Regions from separate parts of the Homo sapiens genome. Here region 2 is linked to region 1. The links are contacts of gene promoters, found by promoter capture Hi-C in human tissues and cell types (Jung and others, 2019). All regions are on one chromosome and are shown on one strand. The core of a region is centred on a gene start or on the middle of the fragment in contact, and the rest is flanking DNA. Distances in the headings are between cores, read along the strand shown.

The links. The method cuts DNA at HindIII sites, captures the fragments that hold promoters and counts their contacts. A contact is called where the count stands out against the background at its distance.
Region 2: the fragment with the promoter of TMEM204 here is called in contact with the fragment with the promoter of RAB11FIP3 in region 1 in 1 of the 25 tissues and cell types used here (heart left ventricle).

Annotation. Positions count from the first base shown.
Region 1 is chr16:424,129-426,898 of GRCh38, reverse strand. RAB11FIP3 (RAB11 family interacting protein 3) reads right to left here and starts at 1,250. Exons shown (of 14, transcript NM_014700.4): 1 at 179-1,250. The coding sequence starts at 892. The HindIII fragment of the contact is 17,968 bases long and covers 1-2,770 here.
Region 2 is chr16:1,532,270-1,534,984 of GRCh38, reverse strand. It overlaps TMEM204 (transmembrane protein 204), which reads right to left and starts at 1,319. Exons shown (of 3, transcript NM_024600.6): 1 at 430-1,319. The coding sequence starts at 709. The region is part of intron 19 of IFT140 (intraflagellar transport 140); the gene reads left to right. RefSeq lists enhancers at 586-1,289, 1,290-1,993. The HindIII fragment of the contact is 11,677 bases long and covers 708-2,715 here.

The DNA of each region.
Region 1 (2,770 bases), core at 1-2,500:
AGCGCAATTCAACCAGAAATCCAGGGCCGAAGTGGTGAATAAGCAGAAAAAGCAGGACCGTCAGGTCTTGACAGTGCCTTTCCCGACTCCAGGGGCAGCGTCGACCGGTCCCACATCAACCCCGCCGGCCAGCGCGCACCTGCCCAGTTCCCACGCCCCGGCCCGGGCCGCTCCGTACCTGCTCTGCCCCGTAGACCGTAGCAAACTGGATGAAGTCCTCGATGCGGACGAAACCGTCCCCATCCCCGTCCAGGGCATCGAACACGGCTCGGAGGCGGGGGCCGTCCTCCTGACTCCCCACGGGCTCGCTCGGAAGGGGGTGGGTCTGGCTGAGGTCCGAGGGCTGCGGCGGGGACCCGGGACCTTGCTCCAGCGCCAGCTCGCCCGCCGTGGGCGCGGGGAAGGGAGAGAAGACGTCGACCTCGCCCCGCGCTCGGTGGCTGCTGCTGGACCCCTGCAAGCGGAAAGGCGCGCTCTCCGGGCAGCTCGCGGGGCCACACTCCTCGGGCTCCTCAGTCCAGGAGAACAACGGGTCGAGTTCTGGAAGCGGCGCTTCGGAGCGCGGCCCTGGGCCCGGGGCGTCGGGGCTCGCAAGCTGCCCCCGCGGGCCGGAGCGCGGCGGCGGGGCGGACGGCCCGGGGTCTCGCGGGCCTCCCTCCAGCCCCGGGGCCGGCCCGGCGCTCCAACGCGCCCCGCCATCTGCAGCGGCCCCGGGCGCAGGCTCATCCAGGCCCGGGGACTGCGGGTCGGGGCCGCCGACGGGCGCTCCGAGGCGTAGCTCCGCAGGGCCCGGAGCCAGTTGTGCCGCCCCCGGCCCGTCCGGCCCGCCCGGCTCCGGGTCGGGCCCCGGCGGCTCCGAGCCCGGGGGCGAGGCCGGCGGGGCCGACGCCATGCTCCCGAGAGGCTAGTGGTGCGGAAGGGCGCGGGCGGCAGACAAAGGCGCTCAGGGCGCGGCGGCGGGCGCGGGCATCCCCTCGGCGGCGCGGGCGGGCGCGCGCGGGGCGCCCGGGCTGCTGGGGCTGGCGCTCGGGCCCTGCTCTGTCCTCGCCCATCTTCGCACCGCGCCTCAGCTGCCCTCGGCCCGGCGGCGCGGCGGGCGCAGGCCCATGGCGGCGGGGCGGCCTAGGGAGGGCGGCGAGGATCCGGGCGGCGGATGGCGGGGGACGGGGGCCGAGGAGGCCGGGGGACGGGGGCCGAGGAGGCCGGAGGCCGCGGAGCCTGTGAAGCAGGATGAGGAGACTAAGGAGGCTGAGGCGCCTGAGGTACCCGGAGAACTAACGCCGCCGCCGCCCAGGCCCCGCCCCCCGTCGGGCCTGACGTCAGCACGTCCCGGCGGGGTCCCAGCCCCTCGCCGGCTTGCTGTAGAGGCAGGCGCCGGGTGTGTCGCGGCAGTGCAGCGGCCGCGAAGGGGTGTTTTGCTGTATGTCATATTCCTCGTTTCGCCAGAGCGGGGGTCCCGAGCTTCGGGCGCGGGACGCGGGGGTGCTCCGAGGCTGCGAGTGGAGGCGTGACGTGACGTCCCTGGCAAGAGGCGCGCGGAGTCAGGCCTTACTTAGAACGTGTTCCCGCCGCACAGCTACCAGCGGGCGCGACCGCTACCCACGCATGGTGCGGTCGAGTAAACGGCACCGCCTGGCGAGCGAGAGACGCAAAGGGACATAGCCCCCTAGGAGCTGAGCTCTTCGGGGGTAAAGCGTTCTCACGTTGATGAGACCAGGAGGCGGCGCACGCCTGGCTCCGCGGCCCAGGGGTTGCAGGTGCCCCAGGGTTCGCGGGGCGCAGACGCCGCAGAGGGCGACGCCCTGCCCGGGTCCCGCGCGGACCCGGGGGACGCAGGGTCTGACACGGAGTGCGGAGGGGCCCCAGACACGCAGTCCATGTCCCTTGAAACCAGAGGCACGCGCGGCCACGCGCTAGGCCTTTCCCTTAAGCCTGTGACCAAGATCTCCGGGACTCCCAGCGTTGGGACGGGCGCGCTGGCCCACGCCCAAGCGGGAGGATCGCTTGCGCCCAGGAGATTGAGACCAGCCTGAGCACCAAAGCGAGACCTCGTCTCTACAAAAAATAAGACTCAAGAAGACACCCAGGGTGAATCGCCCGTCTGCAGCCAGCCTCCCGAGCACCGTGGCCGCGTCTGACAACTGACCTCTGTGTCTGGGTGTCCCTGTCCTCAGAGGGACACGGGACCTCAGAAAGGACCACAGCCCGGCGGCAGGCATGATGGTGGGAAAGCTAGTTAGGACAGGTGAGGCACTAAATTTAGCCTGTCATAATTTGTATCAGGGAAATGATGAACTTGTATTTTTACACACCATGGGCACCAACACAAGATATGGTTTCGTAAGCAGCTTTGGCAAGAACCAAAGGAACGGAACCTCTGCTTCCAAGTGTACGGTCAGGAGCAGCGTGTTAATTAAGTGAGTCATCTTCCGTGGCAGAATCCCAGGGTACATGGGACCAGACTTCGCGAGGCTGGCATTAGGAAAAGGAATGTGAGGGATCCTCCTCCCCAAACCGTATTCTCATTTTCTTGTAAGAGCTGTACGTGTTCATGAGGAAGATACTGCATTCAAAGAACGAAATCACCAGCAGCTTTGGCAAGAATTCAAATTTGGGCTGATGCCTTCGGCCGGATAAAATTTTCAGAAGCAGTGATAGTGATGTGTCAACCTTTCTAAATAGGGGTGTTAGTGTGGGCGAGGCAGAGACAGCAGGCTCCCTCTGCTTTTATGTGCCGGCGCTGCCAGAGGCAGAAGGCTGGCTTTCTGAG
Region 2 (2,715 bases), core at 70-2,569, 1.1 Mb before region 1:
AGTCCTCCCGCCTCAGCCTCCCAAAGCGCTAGGATTACAGACGTGAACCACTGCGCCCAGCCGTAATAATTATTTTCAACCAAGGAAAAATGCCTTTCCTTGATTTGATTAATGTACCCATCTCTTAACTATGTGTAACGGCAGAGAGGCCCCCCAAATGCCTGAGATGAATTCCTGTGTAAAAGAGCTGGAGGCAGATTCTGTGCTGAGCAGGAGGAGTGTGTGGGGCCACCACTCACCAGGGAGAGGGGGCCTTGGGGCCTGGTTCCCTGGGAGACACAGTGCCCCCTCCTGCCTGCCCAGAGGCCACGCTCAGGGCAGAGCAGGGGCCAGGCCTCCCCACCCGCTCACCAGGTCCGCGCCTAACATCTCCCATGTGCCCTCGAGCCTCGGCCACGCTGAAGGCATCAGGAAAACAATTGGACTTACGTTTGACGGTGCCTCGGGACTCCTGGAAGCCGGCTGCCTCGGAGCCCCAGCCCAGCGCCTCACAGTCATGTGCGTCCACCTGGCCGGCTCTGGCCCCAGGGCTCGGCCCTCCCCGGGTCCTGTCCACCAGCCAGCAGGACCTCCACAGCCCCACGCTGCGCCTGCGCCCATCCTCCAGCGTCTGGCACACCCAGTTGGAGGTGAAGGCCGCCACGTTGTTGAGGATGAGTGAGACCAGGGCCACCAGCACGGCCGCGGCCACGAGTCTCTGCACGGTCATCGCTGACGCCGGTGCCGCCGCTTATCCGGAGAAAGCCAAGTCCCAGTCCGCGGCCGCACGTCCAGGGAGAGCCGACGCTGCTAGGGGTGGCTAGAGGACATCACCACTCATCCTCGGGGCGGCGCGGGCGGAGGCCCATGGGATGGTCCAGGTGTGCCGCCTCTCGGCCCGGCCTTATCCTCCTTCCTGCACCTGGAGCAGGGCCAGGCCTGTGCTGAAGCTGCTCGCCTCGGGGCCCATCCCAGGGAGCAGAGGGTGGGCAGCAGCAAGAACCCAGGGCCAGGAGTGCGCCGTCTTCCCGGGAAGCGGAGGCCGGCCTGTGCCGCGCGTGCCTCTTCTCGCCTGCAGCAGTGGAAAACAGAGTCACTCGGGAGGCCGGCAGCAGTGGGAGTCGAGCCCGCGCCACACTCCTTAGCACCGGCCTGCTGTGAGTGCCAGGCTCCGGGCAGGGTGGCCGGTGTGGAGCGGGTTCACAGCTCCTCTGTGCTGCCTGGGCCCCTGTGTGGATGCCTCCAGGGCAGTTGGCCGGTCCTGGAAAGCAGAGTGGCTGCTGCAGGGACGCCCGTGTGCGCAGAGCTCGCCTTCCCTGGCTCTCAGCAGAGAGGAAATGGTTGTTTTTGAGACTGTTTTTGGTGAGCTGGAAGGCGTAGCCAACCGCAACAAATAGCGGCCCTGCCGCGGCAGCCAGACACCAACAGGATGTGCTTCCTGATGGGAAAGGCCAGGAGACTTCTGAGGCCCTGCTCCAGGCCCACCTCCTGCCGCCCCTCCCCATCTTCCTGTCCCAGAGGAGAGGCCAGGGATGCCGGGTGCGGGACAGATCCCTCGTCTCGCCTGTTGCTTTTAAGCCTGGTGGCCCCCGGGGCCTGGAGGCTGGTACTGAGCGACTATTGCCTGCCCTGGGGACTTCACACCCCCCAGCCATCCAGTTGCCCCCAGGACCATAGGTACCCCCAGGACCATAGGAACCACAAGCCTCCCCCCGCCCGTGTGTTCCAGGCCTGCCCCCGCCACGGGAATGCTGCCCTCAAAAGGGGGGCAGATATCACAGGATTGCTGGGAAGGGGAGAGACCCGTGTGCCTGGAGGGAGCAAGTTCACCCAGACCTGCAGGGCCAGGGACCTGTACTTGGAGGACCTCGGGGCCAGGGACCTGTACTTGGAGGGCCTTGGGGCCAGGGACCTGTACTTGGAGGACCTCGGGGCCAGGGACCTGTACTTGGAGGACCTCGAGGCCAGGTCATTCTTAGGTGGCAAGAAGGGTAAGATTCTGGATGTGCTGGGTGGGGCTCTCAGCGGGGCCTGGGACAGAGCGAATGTCACGTGGGGCCTGGGCCACCTCTGCTATTGATGGGAACGGTCACCCCCCACAGCTGGGGACAGGACTAGGCAGGTCACCTTGTGAGTGGTCAGGCTCTCGGGCAGAGCTTATGCTGCCAGGGAGCTCAGAAGCATCTTCGTCTATTCTGCTCAGAATTATTCTGCCCAGCTGGGCAGACACCACGAGAGGGTCTCCTACTCTGTCCCATCTCCAGAGACCCGAAACCCAGCATGGGATTCCCAGCCTACCCAGGCTCCAAAGCTTCGTGAATGCAGGTGTCCCACATCCGTGCAAACTGTTCATGGGCACACGCCCAAGACAGTGCTGGGACAGAGAGTCCTGTTCCCAGCCTGTGGTAACAGCAGAGCTTTGACCGTTTCCTGTCCTTGCACTGCCCGTGCTTGGGCCCTGGCTCAGGGCGGTCCCGAGAGCTGCCACTTCCTGGGACCAGTCTCCATTCACACGTTGGCATGTGGCTCTGTATATCCACAGGTGAAGCAAGGTTCCCCACACACGCCCTGTGTCTGTTCCAGAAAGGCAGCAGCTCCGTCCTCACCAGCCCGTGGTGCGTGCTGGGTCCTGAGAAGCGTTTCTCCACTGGCTTCCTGAGGGACGTGCCTGGGGGGGATTTTCCCCGGGGATTTGTCGCAGACGTGTCCGTCAGGTTTCTCCTTTCCCCTCTTCCT